4 separate regions of the Homo sapiens genome follow, and all the other regions are linked to region 3. The links are contacts of gene promoters, found by promoter capture Hi-C in blood cells and fetal thymus (Javierre and others, 2016). All regions are on one chromosome and are shown on one strand. Each heading gives the region's core, a stretch centred on a gene start or on the middle of the fragment in contact. The rest is flanking DNA. Distances are from core to core; before and after follow the strand shown. Region 1 overlaps NRG2 (neuregulin 2). Region 2 overlaps NRG2 (neuregulin 2). Region 3 holds the start of PSD2 (pleckstrin and Sec7 domain containing 2). Region 4 overlaps NRG2 (neuregulin 2).

Region 1 (3,001 bases), core at 359-2,858, 210 kb before region 3:
CATAAAAACCTGCAGAAGGATGTTTATAGAAGCTTTATTCATAATTGTCAAAGCATTTTTTAAAGTGCCTCCTGTATGTAGAATCCCATTTAGAATATTATGGGTAACATAGAGTATAAAGGCCCACTCTTGAAAAGCTGTCTGCTTAGCTCTGGGTAAGAAGAGATCTGGTTCTTAGATTTAGGACACTGACTCTGAGGCCTCTTTCAACTGGAGGCAAGACAGTGAGAGATTCCATGTGTCCAGCTCTGCAGCAGCAGCAGAGGCAGCCACAATCTGAGATGCTGCTGATTTCTTCTGTGGGGCTTTGAAAAGCAATGAATCTTCACAGTATGCTGAGCTTCTACTTTATTGATGATGCAGCTCAGGGAAGTTTGTGGTGCCATTTTGCCAGGATCTTTTAGGGAAAGCATAGGATCAGATTGGAGGATGAGTGCTAAATGACTCCTAAGTGCCAGAAATAATGGTTACTGAATATGCACTAGTGCTATGTCATTGTTTTGCTGTGTAATTGTTTTGTCTCTCACTCAGTCCTTGCAACAACCCTGGGAGGTTGGTTCTATTGCTATTATCCCATTTTTCATATGGGGAACTGAGACACAGAGAGGTTAAGTAACTTGCTCAAGACCACACAGTAAGTAGCAGAGACATGCCTGTCTGATTTCTGAGCCTATATCCTAACCATAGTACTATACCTCCTTGTTTCATGCATTTATTTTTTTGAACTCACCAGTTGAGTCTCTGGTCATATCATTTGTCAGTTATTTCTCCCCGACTGAGAGGGATAAATAAGCATTCTCTTATATTCTAGGTTTTAAGTTGGCATTTAATGCTGACCCGTCTGGAATTCACTGTAGTGTATATACATTTCATTTGGTTTTAGTTTTTCTCTTTTGGTCACAAGCCAAAGTTAGAATCTCCCAAGCTAGCTCAGGTAAAGATGAGCTCACTGTAGGGAAACTTGGTTTAGTAAGGAGTAAGGGATCTCTAAGCAATCCCAGAAGTGGGCCTATAATAGGACTAGACCTTAGAGAGAGTAGGTCAGACCCAAATGACCATTACCTAGTTCAGTTTCTGGCACATAATAGGTGCTCAATAAATATTTGTTGAATAAATGCAGCAAACAGTTGTGTGGTCAGCTATCCAGTAAAAGGGGCCAGCGATAGCCCTAGTGGAACAAGAGCCCTTTTGTTTGGCTGAAATAAGGTTTACTAGGCTACTCGAAGGATGTGGTAGTAGCAACACTAGAGCTTCACATCTGCTGTGGAATAGATCTTTGATTTCCCCATGCATCTTCTGCATAGACTCTGCACTTACCCTCAGTGGCTGCAGCAAAATGGGACATGTAGATGTCAGGCTGCCCATGGGAACACATTCCTGTGTGGTGCTCCCCACATCTGTTCTCATGTGAAATGACACTAGAGAGTGACAGCTTCCTACTATAGGACTGGCGGCTGTGGGTCTCACAGTATCAGACTTCCTGGTGACTGAGATGCTGTAAGGAATAGAGAGAATGGAAGATCCGGGTTCAGGTATCGGCTTCGCCATAGCTGTGTGAGTTGGGCCTGATCCTTGGCTTCCCTGGGACTTGGTTTCCTGATCTGTTAAGGGACAAGGTTTGGGCCAAGGTTCTTTCCAGCACTTGAGTCCTATGAGTTGCTAAATTGGGCCCAAGGTCACAGGGAAAATGAAATGCTGGCATAATATCTGTCTTCCCTTGAAACCCCTGGATAAGTCCAAGCAAGTGACCCTCTTTGATGGAAGAGAGTTTCCAAAAGCAGAAAGAATCTTTCTCAGGGGTTGGGTGGAGCTCTTCCTTTTTCTCCTACCCTAAAGATACTTGGAAGTGAAGTCTAAAATTGTCACCCAGGACTAGTAGGGTGCTGGAGGTGAAGATGCAGAAGGAGAATGTACAGACAGGCCTCCGGCTCCTGAGTCCAGCTGGTGTTGCCTGTCGGTACACACTCCCCACCTGCCACCTCCAGCTCCTGGCTGATCTCCTCTTTCTGAGCTCTTGATCCTAAGCTGTGTTCTGCTTGTGTCTGTTATGGCTCTGGAGTGAAATGAGCAATTTCTTTTTCTCCAATTGGAAGCTGAAGGCTGCTTAATATAAGTAATAAAGTCCTCAATGCTTTATCCCCTGGGGTCTGTTAACTGCCTGTTTGAAGCAGAAGGCACTACAGCTCGCACAGGATGTGAAGCAGATTGGAGGTTCCTGTATCTTTGAGCCACCTGAGCTTTTTCAAAGTCCAGTTTCCTTCTCCTAGAGCAGAGTTACTCAACAATGGCACTATTAGCATTTTGAGCCAAATGATTCTTTGTTATGGGGTACTATCTTGGGCATTGTAGGATATTTAGTAGCATCCTTGGCCCCTCCACTAGATGCCAGTAGCATCCACCTTCCCCCGTTACCACAAACAAAAATGTCTCTAAACATGGAAATCGTCCCTGTGGGGCAAAATCACCCCAGTTAAGGACCACTATTCTAGAGTTACCACAGCACACATGTAGGCAGCTTGTGTGATGAACTAGGCTTTTGAGAACCATGGTCTTTATTTTTGATTTCACTTCTGACTCACGGAAGACCCTAGGGCAGGTTAATGAGCCTCTCTATAATGGGGACTATGAATTTTCCTTGTTTGAAAAGTAACATGTTTGTTGGAGAAAATATAGAAGAAACAGAGAAGTATAAAAGAAGAAAAATTTAAAGGATCTGTTGGCATCTCAACCACCTAGAGATAATAAGTTTTAAGGTGTATTTTCTTCTTGCATCTTTTCCTGGCATGTCTCTCTTCTCTTCCACCATACTCACACACCAAATCAGGATCATATCTTAATACACGGCAAACCGTTCTTAGAAAATATGATTTTTAATGGATGCATATTAGACAATCTTATGAATGCTCCATATTTATTTAATAACTTCCAGTTGTAGAACATTATTATAACCAATTTTCAGACTACTAGAGATAATACTGAATGACAACTTTGTACATTAATC
Region 2 (2,786 bases), core at 120-2,619, 190 kb before region 3:
AGACCATCCTGGCTAACATGGTGAAACCCCGTCTCTACTAAAAATACAAAAAATTAGCTGGGCGTGGTGGTGGGCACCTGTAGTCCCAGCTACTCGGGAGGCTGAGGCAGGAGAATGGCATGAACCCAGGAGGCGGAGCTTGCAGTGAGCCGAGATCACGCCACTGCAGTCCGGCCTGGGCAAAAGGCAAGACTCTGTCTCAAAAAAAAATAAAAAAATAAAATAAAATAAATAATAATAATAATAATAAAAACCTAGCAAAAAATCTTCAATGCCCATCAACAAGAGACTGAATAAACTAAATCCATAACTACAGTGGAATATTACACAGCTGTTTGAATGAATGAACTGTGGTGACATGCAACAACATGCGTGAATCTTAACAAATACCACTAAGTGCAAAAATTATTGCGTGCCACGGGATATTTTTTATTAAATTAAAAACTTTAAAAATATGTGTATTTAGGAACTCTTATAGATGCAATAACACTATATAAAAAGGAAAGCAAGGGAGTGAGGATTCAGGTTGATGGCTGCCTGGCATGGGAGGTGTTAGGACATGGCATGGGTAGGGGCCAAATGTGGTAGGTTTATGGGTGCTTTTAATACTTTAAACAAATGGTTAGCTAGCTAGCCAGGCAGCAAAGTAGACAGCTCTGACTGCTATGTGAAGAATGGATCAAAGGAGTAGAAGCTGGAGCAGGATGACCAGTTAGGAAGATGTTTAGTATCCAGATGAAGGAGGGTGAGGCATTGTTCTCCAGTGGTGGCCATTGAGATGGAGAGTAATGAACAGAATCAGAATCTATTCCGGAGATAATGGAGAACTTGCTCTGATGACTTAGATGTGGGAGGCAAGGAATATTCTATTGTACAAATCTTCCATAATTTAACAGTCTGCTCTTATGGTACATCTAAGTTGTTTACAATATTTTTTGCTCCAGTAAAGGTCTAAAATGAACATCCTTGTACCTTAATCTTCAAACAAATTCAATTAATGTCTTTCTTTTTTATGGTGTGAGACCGGGGCCAATTTTATTATATTTAAGACTGTTTGTTTTAGAGCAGTGTTAGGCTCACAGTCAAATTGAAAGGAAGGTACAGAGATTTCCCATATGGCCTCTGCCCTCATACATGTTCAGGCTCCCAATTACAATATCCCCCACGAGAGTGGTACATACATTACAACAGATAAACCTACATTGACACATCATTATCACCCAAAGTCTATACCTTACATTAGGGTTCACTCTTGGTGGTGTACATTCTATGGGTTTGGACATGTGTATAAGGACATACATTCGCTATAGTATCATATAGTATTTTCACTGCCCTGAAAATCCTCTGTGCTCCATCTATTCATCCTTCCCTTGCCCCAACCTCTGGCAACTACTGATCCTTTTACTCTCTCCATAGTTTTGCCTTTTCCAGAATGTGATACAGTTGGAATCATATAATACGTAACCTTTTCAATTGGCTTCTTTCCTTTAGCAATATGGATTTAAGGTTCCTCCAGATCTTTTCATGGCTTGATAGCTTTTTTCTTTTTAGCACTGAATATTTCATTTACTGGTTTACCACAGTTTATTCATTCCTCTAATGAAGGCCAACTCGGTTGCTTTCAAGTTTTGGCAATTATAGAAGATGATATGAACATCTGTGTGCATGTTTTTGTATGGACGTAAGTTTTCAACTCCTTTGGGTAAATACCAGAGAGCTCAATTGCTGGATTATATGGTAAGAGTATGTTTAGTTTTGTAAGAAACTGTCAAACTATCTTCCAAAGTGGCTGTGCCCTTTTGCATTCCCACCAGCAATGAACCAGAATTCCTGTTGCTCCACATCCTCACCAGCATTTGGTGTTGTCATGTTCTGGACTTTGGCCATTCTAATAGATATGTATCTTGAATTAGTTTCTGAAAATCAACCTGCAGAGGCTGGGCGTGGTGGCTCACGCCTGTAATCCCAGCACTTTGGGAGGCCGAGGCAGGCGGATCACAAGGTCAGGAGATCAAGACCATCCTGTCTAACACGGTGAAACCCCATCTCTACTGAAAATACAAAAAATTAGCCAGGCATGGCGGTGTGCGCCTATAGTCCCAGCTACTCGGGAGGCTGAGGCAGGAGGATGGCGTGAACCCGGGAGGTGGAGCTTGCAGTGAGCCGAGATCGCACTACTGCACTCCAGCCTGGGCAACAGAGTGAGACTCTCGTCTCAAAAAAAAAAAAAAAAAAACAACCTGCAGAAATGAAATTCTTATATCAAAGGATATGTGCATTTAATAAGGCTTTTGATACATATTACCAAGTTAGCTTCCTGAAATGAAAGATGGCACCACTTTAGCTCCCACTGGTATGAGGCAACATCCACCTGTCCTTTTCTACATTCAAAGCTCTGTATTCAGGGACAGTCTCATTGGCAGTGGAAGATAGGTAGATCTGTCTAGTGAATTTCTCCTGGACAGATGTGTGGTTACTCAGCAGTCTCTGGCTGGGATCGTCCCAGTTAGAGCATTTACTTCCCTGCTTCCTGCAGTGGGCATCCTTAGAGCACTGGACCCCTGCCTTGGGTCCTTTCCTGGAGCATGAGTCAGGATGTGAGGTGGCATAATATCCTTTTTTTTTTTTTTTTTTTTTTTTTGAGACAGAGTCTTGCTCTGTCACCCAGGCTGGAGCGCAGTGGCGCGATCTCAGCTCACTGCAACTTCCGCCTCCCGGGTTCAAGAGATTCTCCTGCCTCATCAGGGACTACAGGCGCTCACCGCCACGCTCGGCTAATTTTTTTT
Region 3 (2,700 bases), core at 127-2,626:
ACTGATTCGGAGATCCCAGGCCCCAGAACTTGTAGCTTCCCTGGGAGACAGGTTCCTAAAGTCCTGGGGAGAGGGTGGAAGAATGAAAGAACGACTGCAACTGCCCTGGGCCACGGGTTGGGTTTGGAGGCAGTCCCAGCCCAGTGAACCCCCCCACCCCCAACCACTATTAAGCAGCTCTTGTTTGTAGGATCTAGAAAAAGGAACTGGGGAACCCAGGAAAGTCCAAACCCAGGCTGCCCACCTGCCCTGGCCAAATCCTGAGCCCTCTCGCTGATCCCCATCAAATTCAGCCTGGCTTATCCCCAGGCTGCCAGGAGTCTTAGGCCCTCTTCCATTGTGACTGCTGCTTCTGCTCCCTGTTCTCTTCCTGGCCCCCCCAAGATGGCCCCAAGACAAAGGGGTGGGCTTGAGACAGTGGCCCCCTGGGCCTATGCAAAAACAATGCCCCCAGTGATCATTCCGGGGAGTCCCTGCATCCTCTAGGAACAGCTGAATACCTCCTCCTCCGAGGGGGCCCGCTGGGCAGGGTTGTCCCCAGTCTGGACTCCCTCTGCACCCAGCCCCAGCAGCCCGCTCCTGGGACCCCTCCCTCCCGCTGCCGCCTCGGCCATTATGTGCCTCCTCAGCCCTGACTGCCACGCCCCCGTGCGAGCCCCCGCTCTAGCTGCAGAGCCGGGGAGGCCTGGCCGCCAAGCAGGGCTGTCAAAGTTGGGAAACTGGAAACAGAAATAAATCCTCAAAGCTGCAGCCTCGTGAAGGTGGCTGCCGGCAGGCCCCGGTACCCAATGCCCCGATCCCCGACCACCAGGCTGCCACTGGCACCCCCCACGCACACGCGTACCCCCAGATTATACAAAAGCGGGGAGAGGGTAGTGGGTGGCGGAGCCGGGAGACAATCGGCCCGGCAGCCCCCACCGTCCCTCAGGCTGGGCTCGGGCTTTCCCGCGGCGCCCCCTCTCCCCGGCCCAGACCCGGCCAGCCCGGGCTTCCTCTCTCGGCCCCATCTCCATGACAACCGTATCCTTCGGATGCTCCAGACGCCGCGGAATTGATCTGGAAATGTAGCTTTGTTAGCGGACCCGGGTGGGCACCGAGGGCGAGGGCGACGCCCCCCACCCGCACGCGGCCCTCTCCCCGGCCCGTCCCGCCCCGGCCTGGCCGCCAGCGGGGAGGGGCGGGTCCCGGAGCCCCGCGGCCCCACTCACCGCTGCTGGTCCCCGCCGCGGGTCCGGCCTCTCACGGCGGGGCCATCGGAGGCCGCCGGGCTGCCTGTCCCGCCCCGCCGCCGCCGGTCGGAGCTGCCCGCGCCCGCCCGCGTCCCTTCAGGTGCCGGAGCCGCGATGTGGAGAGGCTGAGCGAGGGGGACGGACGGCAGGAGGGAGGGAGCGGAGCCGTGAGCTGGAGGAGGAGGAGGAGGGAGGAGCGGGAAGGGCGGGGAAGGGCGGGGGCACTGCGGGCGCGCGAGCGGCGGGCGCGGAGCCCGGAGGGAAGCGCGGCCCCCAGCCCTGTCCGCTTGCAGCGCAGCGCTCGCCCCGGGACCCCGAGCGTGCCGGGGAGAGCGCGGCCCACCTTGTCCCCCTCTGCCCCGCGCGGGCCCTTTAAGAAAGGGGGGGAGGGGAGCGCCCGGGGTTCTGCCCCCTCCTAGCCACGCTGGGCCCCTGCCGTCCTCGAACCCTCGGGCAGACCCAACCACCTCCGCCCTCCAGGCAGGACCCACCGGTCTAGAACCTGAGCTCTCGGGACCCGCCAGGCCCTGGAGGTGAAGGAGGGGGCGGGTCCTGGCCCTCCTCCCGCGGTCTGTTCAGGGAGTGACCCCTGCCCCCAGCCCCCCGACACACACGCCAGCCCCCGGGAGACGCCGCCAAGGGAGGAGCAGGGAGTGCGGGGGGCCAAGGTGAAGAATCTCAGAGAGGGAGACTGAGCCCCTGAGACCTAGAGTCACACGGGACGGGACGGAGACCTGGGCTGTGGGGTGAGAAGGAGCCTCGGGACAGAGTGGGATGGGAGGAGGCAGGAGAGAGGAGAAAGAGACAAAGGAGAAAGAACCTGAGGGAGGCGGGAGGTGAGGGGTGGGTCCAACCAAGAATCCACATCCCTGTGCCAGGTCAAGGGGAAGCCTCCCTGGGCAGATATAAGGAGACAGAGAGAGACAGAGGGTGCCCTGGGCAGAGGAAACCATCTCCCAAGGCACCTGTCCCACGGTGTCTCCCCAAGGGCAAGTCAAGGCCCTGAAGCCGCCCCCCTCAGCCCAGGACTCTAACTGAAGAAGAGGGTTGACTGGCTGTACCTGGGCTAGACATTAAGAACTTCCTGGCTGTGAGGCACCTGCAGAGTAAGAGTCCGCCTCTCAGAGAGGCATTAAAGGGCCCCCACCCACAGGGATCTAAGGAGGGCGTGGGGAGCAGGCCCAGTGCCTGGGAGAAGGGAAATCAGGATAGAGTCAGGCCCTGCCACTGGAGGCCACTTTCTACCCCTCTCCCCTACTCCAGCCCCTGGGGGGTTCACCACACCCAGTTGCTTCCATCTCCAGACCTCAGCAGATGATCCACACTCTGCCCGGTGGGGCCTTGATCCTGCTGTGCTCAGTGAACTCCTACTGAACCCTCAAATTCCTCCTTAAATGCCCCTTCCTTCATGAAGTCTTCTCTGACCTTCTTTCCACCCATGAACACACAAACATGGACTCTTCTTAGGGAG
Region 4 (2,966 bases), core at 430-2,929, 170 kb before region 3:
CGCAGGCCCTCTCAGCTCCGGGCCCACCACGGAGGCCCGTTCTTTCTGTGGTCGGCCTCATCAGCTGCCTCCGGCTTGTCACTTCCACATCTTCCCTTCTCACCCCTTCTCAGCCGGGCGGGCAGGCATGGTGATTCTGGGCCCAGCCTCGGTATTTCATTGGGACGGGACTATCGGAGAGTGGGAAGGCCTGACTTGAGCTGCCAGTGCCTGCTAGGAAAGCAGAAGCTGTTTCCCTCAGAGGCCTTGGGGGTCAGCATGGCCTCCTCCCCCTGGAATGAAACTCTGGAAGGGGCTTGAGTAAGCATGCAGTCCTGTTCTCCATTTATTTATTTATTTATTTATTTATTTATTTATTTATTTTTATGTTTTATTTTTTGGGACAGAGTCTAGCTCTGTTGCCCAGGCTGGAGTGCAGTGGTGCGATCTCAGCTCACTGCAACCTCTGCCTCCCAGATTCAAGGGATTCTCCTGCCTCAGCCTCCTGAGTAGCTGGGACTACAGGCGCCCGCCACCACGCCTGGCTAATTTTTGTATTTTCAATAGAGATGGGGTTTCACCATGTTGGCCAGAATGGTCTCGATCTCCCACCCGCCTCGGCCTCCCAGAGTGCTAGGATTACAGGCAAGAGCCATTGTGCCCGGCCCTGTTCTCCTTTCATAGGTAAGAAAATCAAGACCCAAGGTTAAAGGAGTCTTGAGGGCTCTGACTAGAGCCCAGGCATTCTACATCTCTGATGAGGCCTTGCATCTGAGGGATCTTCAGTTACCAGCCTCTCCTTAGAAGTGTCTCTGCTTTTCTTCCCACCTGGCCACCAACTGCCCTCTCGTGGGCCCACCTTGTGCACGGCAGCAGCGTCTTCATCAGCTTTTGTTGTCTGGTACATTTGGCCACCTGTGGCCTTTGTTGGGCTGCAGGATGAGGAAAGAGGAAAAGGACACTTGTCCTTCAGTACGGAGACTCTGTTGCGGAGGAGGTATGTGTGTCCTGAGAATGTCTGAGTGGGTTTTCTATTCCTCTGCCCAAGAGGAGTACTTGTTGGACATCTACCTTGTACCCAGGGCTGAGTGGGATACAAGGTAATAGTCCCTGGAGTGAAGGTCCTTATAATCTAGGCATGAGGTTGACTCTAAATAGCTTTCTTGAATCCCATGATCCCTGGCCCCAGCACCGGCCATTGCCTCCTCTTCCTTTCCAGCCACTCCCGTTGACCCTATCCCCGTGGGCTATGCAGTGTGGAGACTCCTCACATGTGATTCCCACATGACTGGCATCTCAGGTCTCCTGCAATCCCCTGGGTGTTATATCTCGGAGCAAGGGGCAAATAAGTTCTATTGATGTGGAGCCACTGGGGGAGGCTGGGGGCCTGCATGACCCCTGTTTCCTCCCAGGCCTTTTTTTGAGCAGTTCCTGTAAGCTCCTTCCCATCCATTAGAGATAGGAGAAGCCTCACTAGCCTTCTGCATGAGCAGGTATGCTCTGAGCTTGCTTTTCTGTGCACTTAGGGAAGCTTCTAAATCACAAGCTTAGATTCTTTTACCTTTCTGTTTGTAGCCCATCAGCAGCTCACCACACAGTTTCCCAGGCCCTCCAGGTCCTCCTGCTTGCATTTCCAACTCTCTCTCTCAGCCTCTCCTCATCACCCCTGACCATGCCAAACTTCCCTTTTCTCCTTTTTTAAGTCGCATATGCTCTCATTTCTAAACTCTTGCATATACTAACCTCTTTTTGTGAAATCTTCTTTTCTTCCCTCTTTCCTCCTCCAGTCTTTGCTGCTAGTTCACACCACCCCTAAGAGCTCATCTTAGAATGTCCCTCCTCTGGGAAAGCTTCCCAGCTCCCAAGAGTAGGGTGGGTCCTCTGATCTTACCTCTGATGGTGCTTGTCAGACTGAATTGTAGTCATTTGTTTCTTAATATCCCTTCCTTACCAAAGTCATACCTCCGTAAGGGAAGGGGCCAGTGGTTTTGTTTATTTGTTTCGTGGAGGGATCCTCACATTCCAGTGCAGTACCTGTCGCGTAAGTGCTCAGATTAGACTTGTACAATGTGGTATGAATGCATGGGTGGGAGAGCTGGTGGGCCTTCCTTGAAGAACTTCCTGCCATCTCTGATCTGGATTCTCTGGGTGTTTAGGTGCATCACTCCTGTGTTTCGTTGGCAATGGAGCATAGTGCACCGAGGTTCTCTGGACAGAGACCATTCATTGGTTCAGTAAATATTACTGAGTCCCTGCTATGTGCCAGGCACCACACTGACACTGGGGATACCATAGTAAATAAGCGAGACATGGTCCCTAAACTCATGGGGCTTATAGCCTAGTGGAGGAAACAAATAATAAGTAAGCAAATATAAAAAAAAAATTAGAAATTGTGAAAAGTCCTAGGAAGAAAATGAATAGGCTGATATAGGGCAATATGAGAGACTGGTAGGAGGGACCTTGCCCACAATCCCCTCTCCCCCTGGCTAGCACACCTCTCCCTCTGCAAAGGCTGTGAGCCCCACATCCATACCTCTGCTGGCTTTACCTCACAGTCACATCCTGACCTTGGCAAGAGTTGTACTAGTGAGCACTCCTGACAGCTCTTCCTTTTAGCACTGTCTGCAATTGGGGTGACGGTCTCTACCAGACTGGGAAGGAGATATATCTTGGCAGAAAGTATAGCCCTGTGCTTTGCTGCTCATAGGAAGGCCTTCAGGAGGGCCAGGATTCATCAGCAGAAGTGTCAGAGTCCCTCTGTCCAGGGGCCTGATTGGGTGAATATTCAGGCCCTGTTATACATTGGAGCATCAGCAGCACTGCTGTGTGGTGGCATGAAAGCCACGGCCTCCTGCTGGCAGCTGGGGCTGCTGCTGCCATCCCTGTTCAGGAGGACTGCGTCGCTCTGCTGTTTGGCCTGGTCTGGGGCTGGGGAATGCCTTGCCTCAAGCTCTGTTGGCAATTGTGCTGGTTTGGGCTGCTTTCTC

The links. Contacts are between HindIII fragments. The CHiCAGO score rates a contact against its expected background, and 5 or more counts as called.
Region 1: a contact is called between a fragment that was not itself captured here and the fragment with the promoter of PSD2 in region 3, in 1 of 17 cell types (M2 macrophages). The highest score is 6.1, in M2 macrophages.
Region 2: a fragment that was not itself captured here is called in contact with the fragment with the promoter of PSD2 in region 3 in 2 of 17 cell types (M1 macrophages and M2 macrophages); the score reaches 7.7 in M1 macrophages.
Region 4: a contact is called between a fragment that was not itself captured here and the fragment with the promoter of PSD2 in region 3, in 16 of 17 cell types (M1 macrophages, M2 macrophages, M0 macrophages and 13 more). The highest score is 32.0, in M1 macrophages.

The regions. Positions count from the first base shown.
Region 1 is chr5:140,006,481-140,009,481 of GRCh38, reverse strand. The region is part of intron 1 of NRG2 (neuregulin 2); the gene reads left to right. Among named protein-coding and RNA genes, the nearest start is that of NRG2, 35 kb to the left of the region's middle. The HindIII fragment of the contact is 3,147 bases long and covers 35-3,001 here.
Region 2 is chr5:139,987,223-139,990,008 of GRCh38, reverse strand. The region is part of intron 1 of NRG2 (neuregulin 2); the gene reads left to right. Among named protein-coding and RNA genes, the nearest start is that of NRG2, 55 kb to the left of the region's middle. The HindIII fragment of the contact is 9,540 bases long and covers 1-2,786 here.
Region 3 is chr5:139,794,484-139,797,183 of GRCh38, reverse strand. PSD2 (pleckstrin and Sec7 domain containing 2) reads right to left here and starts at 1,376. Exons shown (of 15, transcript NM_032289.4): 1 at 1,209-1,376. RefSeq lists a silencer at 1,658-1,857. The HindIII fragment of the contact is 8,840 bases long and covers 1-2,700 here.
Region 4 is chr5:139,965,372-139,968,337 of GRCh38, reverse strand. The region is part of intron 1 of NRG2 (neuregulin 2); the gene reads left to right. Among named protein-coding and RNA genes, the nearest start is that of NRG2, 76 kb to the left of the region's middle. The HindIII fragment of the contact is 304 bases long and covers 1,528-1,831 here.